Regions from separate parts of the Homo sapiens genome. Here region 1 is linked to region 2. Evidence: promoter capture Hi-C in human tissues and cell types (Jung and others, 2019). All regions are on one chromosome and are shown on one strand. The core of a region is centred on a gene start or on the middle of the fragment in contact, and the rest is flanking DNA. Distances in the headings are between cores, read along the strand shown.

Evidence for each region. Contacts are between HindIII fragments. The study calls those that stand out against the background at their distance.
Region 1: a contact is called between a fragment that was not itself captured here and the fragment with the promoter of WNK2 in region 2, in 1 of the 25 tissues and cell types used here (bladder).

What each region holds. Positions count from the first base shown.
Region 1 is chr9:93,235,516-93,241,521 of GRCh38, forward strand. WNK2 (WNK lysine deficient protein kinase 2) reads left to right here. Exons shown (of 30, transcript NM_006648.4): 6 at 2,718-2,806; 7 at 4,242-4,461. Among named protein-coding and RNA genes, the nearest start is that of WNK2, 54 kb to the left of the region's middle. RefSeq lists an enhancer at 2,537-3,037. The HindIII fragment of the contact is 3,742 bases long and covers 1-3,439 here.
Region 2 is chr9:93,181,093-93,186,390 of GRCh38, forward strand. WNK2 (WNK lysine deficient protein kinase 2) reads left to right here and starts at 3,047. Exons shown (of 30, transcript NM_006648.4): 1 at 3,047-3,293; 2 at 3,836-4,518. The coding sequence starts at 3,838. RefSeq lists an enhancer at 5,085-5,298. The HindIII fragment of the contact is 13,924 bases long and covers 1-5,298 here.

The DNA.
Region 1 (6,006 bases), core at 319-2,818, 53 kb after region 2:
AATCGGACGGCTTCAGCTGCATAAACAGATCTGTCTTGTCCTCCCTCTGTGGTGGCCCCACTGGGTGGAGGGAATGCAAACAGAACATCTGGAAATGGAATGGCCAGGCCAAGGCTTTCTGTGCCTGTTTTCTGCACCACCCGTCTTGTTGTGAAGCCCAGGGGCCTGCAGAGCTGTCCCTGACATGCGGCGTCTGCACTGAGGGCCCAGGCTGCCCTGATCCCTGCAGTCCCTGCTGTCTCCACATGCCACCTGACTGGGTGGGGCCGCGCTGCCCCTCAGTGCTGCTCTGCGGGGCCATGGCTGCTTCTGCAGGTGCACCAGGGGCTGTGGTCCTCAGCAGCTGCACAGCCTCACTCTGACCCATCCCTCCATCCCGAGCCCTCCTTGCAGATTACCTGCATTTCTGTCCCTTGGTTGTTGTAAATCATCGGTCACTTGGTTGTTCTGAGCCCCTCCTGTGTGCCCCTGAGGAAGTGGGAGGGCAGACAGAGTCCTTGACTCACCTGTGGGCCTGGGTCAGAAACTTCACAGACAGGTGCACAGTTTTCCGTGGGTACTGGAAGGAGTGTCAGGACCTGCTGGCTGTGTGCAGCGGCCCTCCAGGGAGGCAGGGATGGTCTGCAGCAGGAGGAAGTGGGGCGCTCCAGAGATTAAGAGCTCCATTTGCCAGGCCTTGGGGTGCTGGTGTGGGATGGGAGGGCCCCTGGGTTCACTGTGGAGGGTGGATGGTGGTCTGTCCTGAAGCTGTCCCAGGGGCTGGTGGTGCTCCTCGACCCTGGGGGTGTACACTACTGGGCAGAGCCCTTAGGTTCTTCACTCCTGTGTCTGCCCCAGGCTGGGGGCTCCAGCACCCAGGGCAGGTGGGCGTGCCCCCACCCTCCTCCCTGACCTTGGGAAAATTTATGCTTTATGTTCTCTATATTAAGAGTCAGGTGAAGCTTTTGAAGGCTAAATCGTGTTGAAGGAGAAAGAACGTGATAGTTGGTACCCTCATTGTGTTTAAAATTTTTTAAAATTAGTTGCTCATACACCGTCTTACTCCACTTCCAACACAAAACAACCTAGCAGATTGCAAGCAGCACCTGGCCCCGCCCTGCTGCTTCTGAGTCCGGTTGCAGGGCTTGCCCTCTGCTCCCTTCATGCACAGCCATCAGCTGGGTGAGGAGCCACTGTCCCTCAGGCTGCCACCCGCACCCCCCCGCAACAAAGCCGCATGGCCTGGCCCTTGGCCAGCAGCAGTGACCACAAATAGTGCTCCTGCACCCTCAAGGAGGAGGTGTGGGGAGGAAGCCCAGGTGTGGTTAGAAAGGCCCGGCTCTGTAGGAGGCATCCCATCCACCGCATCATGGCGCTGCCTCTACTAGCCTCCTGGAACAGGGGCCCTCGTGGCCCTACTTGGGAGGCTCGGTGAAGCTCTGATCAACACCTTTCCAGAGACTGACTGCTGCATTTGAGGTGTTAACCCCAGTATCAAATTCTGCAGCTGAGGTGGAGGTGTGCAGTGTGTTGTGGCCGGGGTGATGGTGGCTTTGACAGAAGTAGGGTGACCCAAGAAGGTTCTGAATGGTAGGAGACCAGGCTCCTGGCTTCAAGCAGTGGGGAGGGGAGATTTGGAAGGGAATTGCAGCGGTTTCACAGAATTCTTCAATTTATTCCCAGCTCGGCTTTATCTCGCTTCATCTATGGGCTTAGAGTTTCCATCAAAGTTGTGAAATTTTCAGCCATTATTTCTTCAAGTCTTTTTTTATGTCCCCTTATCTTTTTTGGGATTCCAGTTTTATGAATGTCATGTGCATATGTGACCTTGGTAGCATTTCAGATTCTGAAATGAGCAGAATAGAGCCTCAGTGACCATCTTTCTCTGCTGCATCACATCTTCAGGTTCACTCGTCTTTTTTCTGCAGTGTGTAATCTGCTGTCAGTCTGCTGCGGTGAAGTGTTCGATTCAGATGGGCTTTTCATCTCGAGTTCTATTTGGTTCTGTTTTTATCTCTCATTTTTTATGTTCATTTTCCTTTACTGCTTGTATGTATCTGTAAAGAGTTTTAACCTGCTTGCCTACAAGTTGCAGCCCCTCTCACTTGTAGGTCTCTTTCTGTTGGCTGGCTTTTCTGCAAGGTCGTGGGTCACATTTTCTTGCATCTCAGCATTTCTAGTAATTTTTGATTGGATGCTGTACATTGTACACATCCTGACCTGTGTGAACTCTGTGAATTGCCCTGCCTGCAGCTCCCTGTGGTTCTTCACCCGGCCCTGTGGCATTGACAATGCACATGTGGTTTTGTGGTCTGGTCCTCAGCAAAGGCTGGAGGGGACCAAGGTGCAGATACTTGGGGCTCTTTTTTTTTTTTTTGCTGTATGTTCTCTTCTTTCTGGAACTCTGCCTGTGGCCTCCTCAGCCTTCCTGAACTCAGCTCTACCCCTCAACTCAGTGGGGCCACAGGGCTCTGCTGGTTTACGGTGCCTTGTCTGGGAACTGCTCTGGGCAGTGAGCTGGGGCCATGGGAGATTGTGTCCCTTTCTCCCAGAGCCCGCATTTGGCTCTGCCCTGTCATCCGTTTCACATATTTTGCCCAGTTTTCTAGTAGTTTGTGCAGGTTAAGTCCAGTGCCCGTGTCCTGCCGTGGCTGGGAGTGGGAGTTCCTCCCACTGTGGTGGAGGCCTCGCCTTCCGGCAGCCGATCGGGTCAGGTAACTCTGCTCTCTCCCTGTCAGGGTATCAAGCCGGCCAGCTTTGAGAAAGTGCACGATCCTGAAATCAAGGAGATTATTGGGGAGTGTATCTGCAAAAACAAGGAGGAAAGGTGAGTTCCCCTGAAGGGCTGGGTTCTGGGGTCCATCTCCAGCTGAACTCATTCCAGCTTGCATTGAGAGCTGTGTTCTTGATGAGGGGACTTCAAGACAGGCAGGCTCAGGCCAGGGTGTCTGGGGCACGTTAGCAGGGGCTGGTGAGCATGTCGGCCCTGAGTGCGTGTGGGTGACACCAGGCCAGGAGGCCAGGCCCTCACGTCCTTGTTGGCCATCTGGAAACCCTCTCCTTGGCTTTGGGGACAGCCCCCTCCTTGGCTTTGAGGACAGTCCTGTCCTTGGCTGACTGCTCCTCCAGGACCCAGCCTGTAGCATCTGAGCACCTGGGGCTTCTCTCCAGCCTCTCTGCTCCTCTCTGCATGACTCCCATGCCTTGAAGAACATCCCCACGCCAGTGGCTCTAGGTGTGGGCCTCCATTTGGAGCCCTGACGTGTATTTCATGGACTGGGTTGTTTGGCCCTTCTCAAAAATAGCAGGCCTGGAACCGCTCCACAAAGCCGGCTCCCCACCTCCAAGCAGGGCCTGTCCTTCCCTGTTGGTCAGGTGGAAGGCTGGGGGTGCTTCCTCAGCCTTCCCTCCCCCTCACACTGGAGTACACCCACCATCTGACGTGACACCCCTCAGCAGTAAGCAGGGATGGATTGTGGATACTCGAAACTACACAGGTGACTCTGGAGCACACACAGAGGAAGCCAGGCCCCAAAGAGTGCGTGCTGTGTGGTTCCATTTATAGGGTAAAGGGGGTTATAGGTTAGTGGTTAGGGAGGCTTCTTTGGGTGGCCAAGCCCTGCAGAGCCCCGAAGTGGTCACCATGGCAACACCCTGTGGCCCGCCCTCCCGGATCCCTGCAAAGAGCCTTCGAGGCTGGGTCTGGCTGGGGCCCCCCCAGTTCTGCAGGTCCTCACTCTCCTCCAGCTCACCCTCTGCTCTGCTCTCTGTCATCTGGCCAGCATCCTGAAGGAAGCCCCCTTGAAAAGGTCACTGCTTCATGGCACTGGGCACAGGGAGCTCAGAGCGTGGGGGGCTCCGCCTCTGTGTCCATTTTAGACCTACCCAGGACTAAACACTAAAATGTTTCAGTTGTGTCTTCTGACAATTGAAAGCTGGCTAGCACATCCACAGGGGCTGTATTTGCATAATGGGAGGCCTAATGTTTTTCCAAATCCTCTTTTGTATCATTGAATCTTTTATGAGCATGTTTTTTTTTTTTATAATGAGGGGGAATAAAGGAAGTCTTAAAACACTATGTGTTAATAGTAAGACTGGATTCACTGAAATCTTTTCTTTACCCCTGGGAGTGCTGAGACATGAGGCCTGGCCTCAGGCTCCTGCAGGTGTGCCTGTCCTTGTCCTGGTGCGCATGGACACAGGAGCCTGGGCATGGAGGCCCTGGCGCCCGTGCCCCTGCCTGTCAGCTGCTCTCCCTCCAGGTACGAGATCAAAGACCTGCTGAGCCACGCCTTCTTCGCAGAGGACACAGGCGTGAGGGTGGAGCTCGCGGAGGAGGACCACGGCAGGAAGTCCACCATCGCCCTGAGGCTCTGGGTGGAAGACCCCAAGAAACTGAAGGGAAAGCCCAAGGACAATGGAGCCATAGAGTTCACCTTCGACCTGGAGAAGGAGACGCCGGATGAGGTGGCCCAAGAGATGGTAAGCAGGACTCAGATGGGGTGAGGTGGGTGCAGGTGTTGGCAGCTCGTGGTTTCCAAGGATGAGAACAAAAGTGGGCTGAGGGGGCTTGCTCCGGAGGGGACTGCAAGGCCAGTGGGTGTGGCGGTGCCATCCAGGCAGGTGTGGGCAGCTGAGGTCTCACAGCCTGGCCACGTCTGCCTAGGGTCTGCACAGGGGTGGCCTAAGTGGGAGTCCCCTCAAAAACACAGCACCCAGGGGATTAGCAGCTCCGAGCCAGTGCAGTGCGGGAATTCAGGGTGGGTGTGCAGAGAGCAACCCAGGACCTCTGACTTGTCAGAAAGGCCTCGCTTGCTTTGCCGGACTCTTGCTGACTTTGTGTCAGTGTGGTGGCTTTGGGTTTGGGATCTTCGCCTTTCCTTTTGTTTGGGAGCACTGTTACATTGGGTTTCTGGGACTTGGGACTTTTCCACCTAGAAAGGCGGGTTGGGGGTACCTTTCCGCCTCTTCTCTTCCTCCTGCTCCTCTCATCATCTTCAGCTCTGTGGATGAGGAGTGGGTTGGGGCTGGCAGCAGAAGTGCCGCTTTGTGCTGGGGTGTCATCGAGGCCTCATTGGAGGGGGCGCTGAGCCGACTGGAATGAGAGGCAGAAGAGACAGGGCCACAGGCACAGGCAGAAAGGAGTGGGAGTGGTCCAGGTGCAGTGGTAGGAGGAGAGGCCACGCTGACGATGCCAGGGGGTCAGCGGTGGAATGGGAATTGTGTGGGATGTGGGGACAGGTGCAGCAGGTGGGACAGATCTAGATTATTCTGACTTGATTCTCAGGTCTGTGCCATCCAGTAAAATCGCCACTGCCCACATGTGCTATTAAAATATAAATTAATTAAAATTTAAAATCCACTTTCTCAGTCCTACTGGCCACATTTCAAGTGCTCTGTGCCAAGTGTGGTTAGTGGTTCTTGTCTTGAACAATGCAGGACGTTTCTGGCCTGGAATGTTCTGTGGGGCACTGCTGCCCTGGGCCGGGGGCTGTTAGAAGTTCTTGGACAAGCAGACTTTGGTCACACCCCTGCAGGGATAGGGCATGTTTGCTGGGCATTGGGCAGTGGACGCCAGAGAGGGACAGTGGTGGGAACCTGGCCTGGGAGGGCCCCAGGGCCAACACTGCTGCCTGAGAACCCTAGTGCAGGGCCTAGAGACAGACAGAGACGTCTTTGTTGTTGGTTACAAAACATGAACAAACGTTGACATTAAGTCAGACAACTTGATACGAAGGACAGGAATGTCTGCACCGGAACAGGTGAAAACAAAGTCACAACGGGGAAGACCAGTGGGAACGAGAGGCTAGGAAGAAGGCAGTTAGTATTGCATGGTAAGAAAGTTGCGCATTTGCAGTGAACACCTGAGCAGAAATAAATCCGGTGTGCTCATGATAGCCCTCGGCTCATGTGTCCTGACCACAGAGGTGCTCGCTGTTTTTTCTTTCTTTTGAATAAGCTTTTTACTGAATACATCACGTCTGTTGAAAATGTCCATCAGTCACCAGTTCCAGGCTGATGATTCTT
Region 2 (5,298 bases), core at 1,797-4,296:
TGTTGAGCATGACCATTATGCCCATCTCACAGATGAGCAAACTGAAACCATGGTCCTGTTGCTTGCTGAGGCCCAGCTCCTGGAACTGCATCTGCATGGAGCAGGTGTGTGCCTGCACGTGCCTACTGGCTGGGTAGGCTGGAGCATAGCCTGGACTTGGGAGAAACTTTTTTCACCAAAGGGGCTCCCTGGCATTGTGGAAGCTAAGGTGATAGCTGTGGGTAGAGGTCACTGTCTCCACTCTGAGGCCTTGAGAAAGTTACTTAAAGTTGAAAAATCTCTGGGCAAGACCTCAATGTACTCATCTGTTCTAAACATCGAAGACAAATGCTGCCCCGTAATCCCAGCACTTTGGGAGGCTGAGGTGGTTGGATCACTTGAGGTCAGGAGTCCGATACCAGCCCGGCCAACATGGTGAAACCTCATCTCTACTAAAAATACAAAATTAGCTGGGCGTGGTGGTGGGCGCCTGTAATCCCAGCTACTCAGGAGGCTGAGGCAGGAGAATTGCTTGATCCTGGGAGGCAGAGGTTGCAGTGAGCTGAGCTGAGATCCCGTCACTGCACTCCAGCCTGGGCAACAAAGTGAAACTCCATCTCAAAAAAACAAAAACAAAAGCAGAAAACAAAAAACAAACCTCCAAAAGACAAATGCTGGCATCATGACCCTGGATCATGCAGCCTCAGGACACCCAGTAAAGCAGACTACAGTATTTATACTCCCCGTCTTAGCAGCAGGGAGATGGAAGCTCAGAGATATCCAGTGACCTGCCAAAGGGCATATAGCCAGTGCTGTGAAGTCCTGACTTCCAAGGTCTGTCCAAGGATCCCTCAGGCTCCATCTGCCAGGATCCCAGGAGCTGCTCCTGAGCCCAGCCTGAGATTCCTTGCAGAGGAAACTGTGACCTGTCCACTACTGACTTAGCTGTGTACCCTAATGGTCATGGGTTGGCAGAGAGAATGAGCTCTCCACCATGGGAGGTGTGTAAGCAGAGATGCGTGAATTCACCCCAAGGGCTCAGAGAGCACACAGTACTCTCTCAGGGACAGGCTGTCCCCCACTCCCCACAGCCTGGGCTGCTCCCTGCTGATTTGTGGGTGTAGCCATCCTTTCCCACGCATGTGTACAAGTGTGGGTGGGCAGCAGCCATGGGTGCTGATGAACCTTCTCCGATGCTGGCAGGTATTTTGCCCACACACTGCCAGTGTGGCCTGTTGGGAGCAGGAGGAGGCCAGATAGGTGTGTGCTGGTCTCAGAACACGCTTAGCTCTGTCCCATCCTGGTTTTCCCTTGGATAGGCTTGAACACACCCATCATGAACAGGTCTGTGGACTTGGTGCCCTTCCTAGATTGACTGAATCTACAAGGAATTGGCAGCCTTTTAAGGTGGGCAAGTCAGGATGATCAGCCCACTCTGCAGGGCCAGATACTGAGGCTCAGGAAGGACCAGGACTTGCCCAAGTTCACTCAGCTGGTTAGGGGCAAGGTTGGGGGGTCTTTAGCCTCCAAAGGGAAGACAGAAAAGATCCTTTTCCACCCCTGACCTCTACCTGGAAGACTCCTGCCCCAGGAGATGCAACTTAGATCCCTGTCCCTCAGGCCTCTCTGTCCTGCAGAGCTGGCGTCTGCTGTTTGGCCTCCTCCTCGTGTGAGCTCTGGGCTCATGCCAGCGGACTTGAGCCCCGGAATGAATGCCTGTCTCACACGGTAGATTAGATTATATAAATAACAGGCAAGTGCCAAATGCATAGCCCTACACCTAGCACACTATTTAACCACTGGCTCTCTGGGGAGAAAAGTCCTGATTTGAGGTGTTTGCCAATTTCCGCAGTGTAAATACTCCCAGCATTGCTGACTTCAGGCTACAGGGTGGCATTGCTGAACCCAGAGCTGGGAAGGGATGTTCACTGTTGCCCCTCACAAATTAGTTTCAGCCAGTGCCAGTGCCCAGCGGGGCTCCAGGAAGTCCTGCTTCTCTGGGTAACAGTTGGCCTGGCATATTCTTCCCTCTACATTGTGAAGGTGAGATATCGCCTCTGCTGGCTTTTATGCCACATGAGTTATTTTGTGCCAGGGGCTCCAAGGCCTACAGGCCCACAAGCATCTTTTCATCTCTGGAAGTGTGTGTGTATCTGATGGGGGTGCCAGCCCAGTGGGATGGGGACTGAGATGAGAATACTCTGGTATCTCCCTTGTGCCTCAGTTTCCTCACCTAGGATCATGGAGGCTGGGGTAAGGGTGAAGTGTTAGCTCAGGGCATTGCCTGGAGCAGGGCTCAGAACTTAGCAGTATGGTTACTGACACAGGTCACCTGCTGCATTAGGGCCAGAGACGCCCAAGAGAGGGCTTGTCCGTGGGGGTCTAGAGGAGGAAGGAGCTAGAGATCATGGAAGACTTCTCGGGAGAGGTGGCATCTGGCAGAGGTGGGAAGGAAGAACACTTTGGGTCAAGGGGCTTCTGGAAGCCTCTCCATATCCCATCCAAGGCATTCCAGCTCAGCTTCGGTCTTGAAAGTTCTGGGATTTAGAGCATATAACTTCTGCCTTTGGCGCCTCAGTTTGCTCTAGACTGTGAAATGGGCATAATGATCACCAGTGCCTCCCTGGGTGATGATGAGGTCCTCATGGTTCCTGGTGGTGAAGTGAGGGCAGGAAAGGACACGCTGAGCCCCACCAGGCTTAGCCCCAGGCTGGGCTCCCGAGGGCGGCGGTACCCCTGGTCCTTTTCTTCCTAGCCTGCCCATTCTGTCCTGGCACAGGGCCTTGAGGTCTAGCGCGCCGGGCTGCGGCGTGCTGAGGCGTTGAGCCTGCTGCCTCCTCTCAGGAAGAAACGGGGTCCTCCGCAGCTGACAGCCCTGCGGGGCGTTCCAAAGAACTTCAGAGGACAGGAGCGCTACCTCGAGCAAAGAACCGCGGGTGGGAGCCCAGGTAGCCGGCCCGCAGGTGGCCGCGCGCGCCTGCCAGTCAGCCAGCCCGTCCGCAGCCAGGTGGGCGTGCCAGGCCCAGCCCCCTGCGCCGGTCCGGGGCGGGGCGAACGGAGCCCCGCCCTCCCCGCGCGCCGGGTCGGAGCCGGTGCGGGAGCGGAGCCGCGCGAAGCCGGCAGGAGCACGCGGGAGCGCGGCCCCGCAGTGGCCCGGCCCGAGAGAGCAGCGCGCAGGAGCTGGAGCGGCGCCACGGCCCCCACCCCAGCGCGGACCTCGCCCGGAACTCGGACCCCGTCCTCGAAGCGTGATCTCTCCCGCCTCGCACGCCCTGGCCGCCGGGCCGCGGGCATGGACGGCGTCCGCTCGCCCTGTGAGTGCCGAGCCTCCCCTCAACGCCGCTCGCCGCCTTTGTGTGCGCGCCGCGGCGCTGCAGCCCCCTCCCCGCGCGCCCCTCCCGCGCCCCGGGCCCGCGTCCTTTGTGGAGCCGCCGCCGGGCCACTGCCTTCCTCCCACCCCCGGGCTTCCCTATCCCCTTTACAGCTGCCTCCGGGACAGCCTAGCAGAACCCTCCTGGGCCAGGGCTGGGCAGGGCGCGAGATCCCTCTGCCGGCCTCCGGGGCCCTCAGGGACACCCTAGCAGGTCCTCTCTCCCAGGGTTCCAGGGACACCACAGGCCCGTCCCTCTCCGCAGCCTGGGGCTGAGCAGGGCACGGACCCCTCCTCCCCAACCCAAGCCTCTGGTCCCGTCTGCAGCCCCCCTTTCCCAGGGCCCCCAGAGACGGCCCCCGCAGGCTCTCTCCGCGGCCGGGGCTGGGCAGGTTGCGGGCTTAGGGCGGCGTTGTCTCATCCGGCGGCCTGGGCAGGTGCGGCAGGGCCGGCGCTCACGCGGGCCTGTGTGTCCTTGGCCCACAGAGATGGACGGCGATGGCGGCCGCCGAGACGTCCCCGGCACGCTGATGGAGCCCGGGCGCGGCGCGGGGCCCGCGGGCATGGCGGAGCCTCGGGCGAAGGCGGCGCGGCCGGGGCCCCAGCGCTTTCTGCGGCGCAGCGTGGTAGAGTCGGACCAGGAGGAGCCGCCGGGCTTGGAGGCAGCCGAGGCGCCGGGCCCGCAGCCCCCGCAGCCCCTGCAGCGCCGGGTGCTTCTGCTCTGCAAGACGCGCCGCCTCATCGCGGAGCGCGCCCGCGGACGCCCCGCCGCCCCCGCGCCCGCAGCGCTGGTAGCGCAGCCGGGAGCCCCCGGAGCCCCCGCGGACGCCGGCCCCGAGCCCGTGGGCACGCAGGAGCCCGGCCCGGACCCCATCGCAGCCGCTGTCGAAACCGCGCCTGCCCCCGACGGCGGCCCCAGGGAGGAGGCGGCGGCGACCGTGAGGAAGGAGGATGAGGGGGCGGCCGAGGCGAAGCCTGAGCCCGGGCGCACTCGCCGGGACGAGCCCGAAGAGGAGGAGGACGACGAGGACGACCTCAAGGCCGTGGCCACCTCTCTGGACGGCCGCTTCCTCAAGTTCGACATCGAGCTGGGCCGCGGTTCCTTCAAGACGGTCTACAAGGGGCTGGACACGGAGACCTGGGTGGAGGTGGCCTGGTGTGAGCTGCAGGTGAGGGTGCCCCAGCCCGCAGGGGGCTTTCCGCAGGGTCTGTCCGCGAGTGCGTCCTTGGGCCTGTCCTTGCTCCTGCGCCTGGCCTTAAGAAGCCCTGGGGGCGGCGGGGCTCCATGTGTGTCACCCTCTGTGTGGATGGCTGGCAGGATGCATACCAGGTGTGCGGACGGCATGTGGGGCCTGGCTGTGTCCGTGCGCAGGTTGCGGTTTGTGAGTCAGCTGGTGGCGAGGGCAGGCCTCTGTTGTGCGTTTGGTGTAAGTGTGCACGCTGTGGGCGTAGAGAGGGTCCTGGAGAGTGGGCCTCGGAGGCTGTGTCTCTTAGGCTGCTGCTTCTCCAGTCCCGATGACCTACTTTAATGACCCAGGGAGTCTGGACTGTTGTGTCTTTGCAAAACAGTGTGGAGGCTTCAAGGCCCGGTGTGTGCAGTCAGAGTGTTTTGGGGGCTCTGGGCTGCCCATAAATTAGTACTTTCCTGTGTCCAGCAAGCCGTGGCTGCCCCAGCAGGGATACCTGCAGAGACTTCTTCTGACCCAGGGCCTGTGACCCAGAGGTGGTGCCTGGTAGAGCTCTGGGGACAGCTGGGCAAGGCCTGGAAGTGTGGTTAGTCGCCTCTGCTGCTCTGAGAGCTCCATTTGTTCACAAAATGGACGTGTGAGAGGTCTTAAAACCGAGTCATGCAGAATGCGTGTGGGGGTTTTTCTTGGCTGCAGAGGCTCTGGGCATGCATTTTTCATAATCCTGCCATCACCGTGGTGTCAGCCCCAGCCCTGCAAGAT